Linked DNA regions of Homo sapiens: region 2 is linked to region 1. The links are contacts of gene promoters, found by promoter capture Hi-C in human tissues and cell types (Jung and others, 2019). All regions are on one chromosome and are shown on one strand. The core of a region is centred on a gene start or on the middle of the fragment in contact, and the rest is flanking DNA. Distances in the headings are between cores, read along the strand shown.

Region 1 (3,268 bases), core at 499-2,998:
GGGAAAGAGGAGGGAATTATCATTTCGAACTCCTACTCACCTGTGCCAGGAGAGCACTGCTGTGACTGATTTCCCTGATTTCATCCTCACCACAGTCCTAACAGATTAGTATTGTTAAAGTCCATTTAACAACTAAGAAAGCTGAGGCTCAGGAAGGTCAAGCAGTTTACTCAAGATCATATTCTCAGTAAGCCGCAGAGTCTGGATTGAAACCTGGTCTTTCTGTTTGGGTCGACTCAACATTTTTAACCGTATTGTTTGCCTCCTACATCGCCTTCATCTCAGACATTAAGAATCCTACCTATTCAATGCTTTTCATCCTCCGCTTTAAAGAGATAAGTGGGTGCACAACTTTTTTTTTGCCTGAAACATATCATCTAAAAGTTAAGCAAATGAAATTCATTTACCAGTTACAGGAATCTTTTTCTTAAATCACTGTTAATGTCTCACAGGAAATTAGCTCTTCAGTGGAAATCAGCAGCCTCCCTGCATCCTTTTGCCCCTGTCCTCCCCTCTCTTGGATGCAAACCTGGCGAAAAGAAGGGAACACTGCTTGGGGTCAGCGAGCTGAGTTCCAGCTCCGAATGTACCATTTTCACCCTCGGGAGTCTTCTCCCCTTTCTCTGTGAGCAAAGGAGTGTTGGGCCAGACCGTCTTAAGGATTCTTCCCCAGGTACAAGCCGGACTCTGGCGGCTTTCCTGGGCAAGGGAGTGTCTCCGCCTTGTCTCTGCCGCAGGTCCCTGGTTAAATTGTCAATTTCTCTGCGGAGGCTGCTCACTGCATCCGCTCCCTCCACCCCTAGCCCTGTAGACCCCTTCTCTTTCCCCTACTTGGGAAAAGTGAAGCCCCTTATCCTTGGATAGCCTTTCACCAGACAACCGCAGCCGTCCGCTAAATTCCCCTACTGGCGGGACGCGCGGGCGGGGGCCTGCCCCGGGGAATGCGAGGCTGCTTCCCTTCTGCGTAATCAGGGTACGCAGCCTCCAGTTCTCTAACTTTCTCCTTCTCTAAGAGGGAATTTCGAGAACTTTAAGACAAATAAGTGACTATATAGATGAAGACATGAAACCTCTCTACACAGTGAACTCCCCCACGCTACAAGGCTCCCAGGGATCCCAGGCCTTCTCCCGCAATGCCCCGCCGGGTCCCCCGCCCCAACTCCTTCTCACGGCAGGATCCCGCGCCAGGACGCTCGCAGAGCCCGAGATGTGGCACCAGGCGCGCCACAAGTCCAGGTCCCGCTATTTCTGCTCCATCGGAGCCCAGGTCGGAGGGAGTCAGCGCGTCCTCCTCGCACAGGAGCCTGGCGCGCGGCTCGGTCGCACAGAGGCTGAAGAAAGGTCCGCACTGGGCTCGAGGCCCTTCCTGCCGGCCTCCCCACGCCGGGCCTAGGCTCCCCTCCTTCCCGGCTCCCGCCTCCTCCCGTAGGCTGCCAGGCGGACCCAGCCTGCCTCTCTCTCTGCCTTCACTACCGGGTCAAGCTGCGGAGGGAGGGAGGGAGGCAGCGGCGAAGCCCTCCGTGGCTCCCCACCCGGCGCGCGCGCCCCTCCTCCCCTGCCTCCTCCCGTCTGCCAGTACAGTAGAACTAGTACACACACACACACACACACACACGCACACGCACCCTGCCACTGCAGCTGCCATGGATATCAGCTAACAACACACACCCAGGCGCGCGCGCGCGTTCCCACTCGCACCACGCAGGAGTGGCCCCCGGCATCCCTACCCTCCTTCCCCACCCCCACCACACCCGCTCACCAGCTCGGCTACTGCTCGCTCCGGCTGCCGCCGCCGCCGCCGCCGACGCCACCACCACTGCTTCCTCTGCTGCGGGGCCACAGCCTTGAGTGTCATTCAAGGGACAGCACAACCTCATCCAAGCTCTCCTACCTCTGCCCAGCCGTCCCTCTCATCCTCCCCATTCCTCGTCCACACTCCATCCAAAGAAGAGGGAAAGCACCGAATAGAGGGGGGCGAAGGCAAAGTCTGCTGTTCTTCCCCCTGGGCCCCCTTGCTCCTCCATCCTCATTCTCTCACCACCAGCCCCCCTAACCCCAAGGAGCCCAGGAACTGAGGCGACTCGCCCCACTGCCATGTCCAAAAGCTTGAAAAAGAAAAGCCACTGGACTAGCAAAGTCCATGAGAGTGTCATTGGCAGGAACCCGGAGGGCCAGCTGGGCTTTGAACTGAAGGGGGGCGCCGAGAATGGACAGTTCCCCTACCTGGGGGAGGTGAAGCCCGGCAAGGTGGCCTATGAGAGCGGCAGCAAATTGGTGTCGGAGGAGCTGCTGCTGGAGGTGAACGAGACCCCCGTGGCGGGGCTCACCATCAGGGACGTGCTGGCCGTGATCAAACACTGCAAGGACCCCCTCCGGCTCAAGTGTGTCAAGCAAGGTGAGAGCAGCGGCTTGCTCAGTGTTTTGCCGGGCGGTGGGACCGCTCGGGGCGCAGGGCAATGAAAGGGTGGCCGCGCATGTTGAAGGGGGTGTGTTGCGCGATGATGGGGTGGGGGCCAGAGAGCACCCGCAGTGCAAGTGAGTTTCGCCGGGGATTCGACTTGGGGGCTAAAGGGAGGGGAGGGGCAGGTTGTGGTGTGGCGTGCAACTTTGTTTGCTCAGTTAGACCCTCCCCTTTGGAAGGTGCTCGGCCTGGTCTGACCTCCTCAGAGCTGCTGGGGCAAATTGAATGTGCGTCAGTGGCATCACCCGAAGCGGATGAAGAGCTTTTGGGGAAGGGAGGAAGGAAGAAAAGAAAGAAAGAATGGGAGGAAGGGAGGGAAAGAAGGAAGGAGCAACTTCAGGGTGCAGCGGCATCACCAGCGGGTCTGGGAAGAGAAGGTGGTGGGGTGAGCGGAGAACTGCGTCCAGCGTTTCTGGGGCTGGGCTGGGGGCGCCTGGGTCCCCAGCTGTCCCTTAGGGATCCGTGAGCCACCGCTGGCGAAGAAAAGAAGGGACAAATTGCTTTGGGCGCTTTGACGGGTCTTCTGTAACTTTTCCCCTTCTTCACTCCGTGTCCCCCTCCCCCGCTCACGGTCGTGTCATGTGGGCATCGCGCGTCACGTGCGTACTGACTAACCCCTGCGCTCACCCCTAGCCAGCCCGGGGGAGGAGGCTCCGGAAGAAGGCGCGGTGCTAGGAGCGCAGTCTAGTGCTGGGCGGGGGTCGGAGGAGATGAATGGTTGTCGGAGGAGATGAATGGTTGTCCGCATGGACTTTACTCAGGGGTTGCCCTCATTGAGTGGAAGTCCTCTGTGGTTGGGCTCTCCTC
Region 2 (3,268 bases), core at 209-2,708, 1.4 Mb after region 1:
TATGATTGACCCTCCCATTGCAAAGTGCTTTCCCTTAGAAAGTGTATGTCTCACATCTGTAAAGTTGGATATTTTATCCCCATCTTATAAAGGAAGAAATTGAGGCTCAGAGAGATTTAGTTGTTGGTCCAAAATCACGTCACCAGTAAATACATGCCAGAGCCAGGATTAGATTCCAGGACTTCTAGGATTTTACCATGTGAAAATGATAATGGACATCAGTGTATGGAAGAAGGAAGGTTAACATTATGCCCAAAATGTTCCATTCGAATTTCACATAGAATGAGAAACGTTTTTGATTTGCCATTCTAAAGATGGCCAGAATTATTGGGAAAACCATTGCCACTGCCCTTTTCCTCTCCTTATTGCTTTATAAATCAGTATCAAAGGTACTATATAAGAACCCTCAAGTTTCAAACAAAGTAGACCCTGGACATTAATGGACTGAGTATGCACAAGTATCACTGACAGCCTCTGACACGTTACAGAGGCAAGAGCTTGAATCACATGCACTGAGGTTGCTGTGTGGGACTGAATCTTTTAGCTAGTGAGGGAGGCTCACCTGGCACCCAGAATTCAAATCTATCAATGTGGTTTCTTCGTTCTCCACTCATGACCATATACCAATTCTGTGGAAGAAAAATTACACTCTAGAATATCACAAAATTTGAGCATTTCCAAGGTCATGAGACATATTTCTTACAAATATCAAGGATTCACAGTAATTGGATTTCCCTGCTTTCATTTCCCCTTAGTGGCCAGAAGCTCCAGGGAACTGTTGTTGCTCACAGTAGCAGCTAACTCATCTCAGATTCCTAATACATCTGTCCTTCTACTTGGCCTCTGACCAGCTGTTGCTTTAAAAAAAAAGTCATCTCTCATTTTAATCATTGTTTTATATGTGTTTTGATGTTGTCAATTGTCTTAAATCCTTTTTGGAAGTAGGTAACTTAAATCCTAAGTAAATGTTGGAACTAGACTTCCTAGAAAGAATTATCTTAGTCCTGGGGCCCTCCATAATGTTAGAAGTACTAAAAAGAATTAAGTTCCATCCGGACTTGGCAAAGAAAAAAAATGGAATTAAGGACGATTTTTTTTAAAAAATGATAGTTTTAAAATGTATTTATCCAAATTCTGAAACTGACAGCAGCTAGGAATATGCTTTGAGTGACACCTACTGGTTGAGAACGTCACTTCCCAACTTCCAGAGAACCCAGACCAGTGTTTCTCAAAGCTTGGCTCTAAACCAAGCTTGTCCAACCCGCCTCCAGCTTTGAATGTGACCCAACACAAATTTGTAAACTTTCTTAAAAGATTATGAGATTTATGCATGGACCTTTTTTTTTTGAGCCCATCAGCTATCGTTAGTGTATTTTATGTGTAGCCCAAGACAATTCTAATGTAGCCCAAAGAAGCCAAAAGATTGGACACCCCTGCTAGGCCACCTTTTTCAGAATGGGTGCCTGATAAAAATACAGAGGACTTCCTGGGCCCCGTGCTGCTGAAACCTCCGGGCCTGCTCCTCCCGGGGAATCTGTATTTTTCACCACCACCCTGGTGATTCCAAGGTCTACTCGAGTTGGAGACCCATTTATTCAAGGGCTGTCAAGTGAGCTGTCTATACAGGACTATCAGGCCCGAGAACACCCCCGGAAGTTAGCAGGGCCAAGGCGAAGGGATTAGGCCTGGGCTTCGCGTTGGCCTCCCCGGTCCACGGACGAGGTTCGGGGCGTGGGGGCTAAGCGGGGCGGAGGGAACCCCCAAATCCCCGGGGGCGCGGCCGCTGCCCTCTCGGCAGTGAGGGTGGGGGTGGGGGTGGGGGCGGCGGTGGCTCCGGCCCCTGAGAGCAATCGCCCCAGCTGCCTGCCCCTGTCCCCGGCGTAGAGAGGGCACGGGGACGTCCTGCGTGCGCCACTGCTAACGCCTGTGCTTCCCGTCCACAGACGAACCCGCCCCCTGGAGTTCTCCCGCTGCCGCCGCCCCAGGTCTGCCGGAAGTAGGCGTCTCCCTGGACGACGGCCTCGCTCCATTCTCTCCATCACATCCAGCCCCACCCTCCGACCCTTCCCACCAGATAAGCCCAGGCCCAACTTGGGATATCAAACGGGAACACGACGTTAGGAAACCAAAGGAGCTTTCAGCCTGCGGCCAGAAGAAGCAGCGCCTCGGGGAGCAGAGGGAGCGCTCGGCGAGTCCGCAGAGGGCCGCGCGGCCGAGGCTCGAGGAGGCGCCCGGCGGCCAGGGGCGGCCCGAGGCCGGCAGGCCCGCCTCGGAGGCCAGGGCGCCCGGGCTCGCGGCGGCAGACGCGGCGGACGCGGCGCGGGCGGGCGGGAAGGAGGCGCCCCGTGCGGCGGCGGGCTCCGAGCTCTGCCGGCGCGAAGGCCCGGGGGCTGCGCCGGCGTTTGCCGGCCCGGGCGGCGGCGGCAGCGGCGCGCTGGAGGCCGAGGGCAGGGCGGGTGCGCGCGCGGGTCCCCGGCCGGGCCCGCGACCCCCGGGGGGCGCCCCGGCGCGCAAGGCCGCCGTCGCGCCGGGGCCCTGGAAGGTGCCGGGTTCTGACAAGCTGCCCAGCGTCCTCAAACCCGGCGCCTCGGCCGCCAGCAGATGAGCCGCGCGGCCACGGCCAACCCGCCCGCCCCGGCGCAGGCAGTTCTTCTTAGGTTCCGTCTCACGGCGTTTTAATTTATTTTCACTGTCACACGCATAGATCCACGAGGCACCAAGGCCTGGGAGCATCGACGTGAAGTCCCACGTGTCCGGTGTGCTTGGGCGGCATCGCATCAACGCGCAGACCTAAACTGATCCTAAAGCCCCCGGTTCCCTTGTGGGGGCTTTGGCAGCTATGGAAGAACCAAAATAACGTGAAGAACATCACAGAGAGACAGTGCAGTGTAGCTTTAGTTTAAGAAAAAAAAATATTCCTCCCCACTGCATGAAGGACTTGGATGTCATCCAAACTTTATATCAAGAAACAGGACAAAGTTAAGAGCAATCACAAACTGGAATATCGCCTTAAAAATCAAACTGCACGGAGCAAGCTGAAACTGAGACAAGATTATATCTTTTAATTGATCTAAAGCGTTGTAAATAAATTGTTCTCGACATATCTAGACAGGGGTTAAAGGGTTTCTTTGACACATTCGGAACCGTTCACCCATGACATGTTTCCATGGCTCACCCTTGGCATCCATCCTCGGTGTTAGCAGCAGCGTTCCCTGCCTCCTGCAGGATGACTTAGAAATCTAGTGAGTTTCTTGGTGTGATGCCATTT

The links. Contacts are between HindIII fragments. The study calls those that stand out against the background at their distance.
Region 2: a contact is called between a fragment that was not itself captured here and the fragment with the promoter of MAGI2 in region 1, in 1 of the 25 tissues and cell types used here (hippocampus).

What each region holds. Positions count from the first base shown.
Region 1 is chr7:79,452,147-79,455,414 of GRCh38, reverse strand. MAGI2 (membrane associated guanylate kinase, WW and PDZ domain containing 2) reads left to right here and starts at 1,748. Exons shown (of 22, transcript NM_012301.4): 1 at 1,748-2,395. The coding sequence starts at 2,095. MAGI2-AS3 (MAGI2 antisense RNA 3) reads right to left here and starts at 2,458. Exons shown (of 4, transcript NR_038346.1): 1 at 2,224-2,458; 2 at 1,760-1,828. RefSeq lists an enhancer at 3,008-3,268. The HindIII fragment of the contact is 8,431 bases long and covers 1-3,268 here.
Region 2 is chr7:78,018,652-78,021,919 of GRCh38, reverse strand. It overlaps MAGI2 (membrane associated guanylate kinase, WW and PDZ domain containing 2), which reads left to right. Exons shown (of 22, transcript NM_012301.4): 22 at 1,944-3,268. The coding sequence ends at 2,605. Among named protein-coding and RNA genes, the nearest start is that of DDX3ILA1, 30 kb to the right of the region's middle. RefSeq lists a silencer at 2,237-2,396 and an enhancer at 2,377-2,878. The HindIII fragment of the contact is 5,187 bases long and covers 1-3,268 here.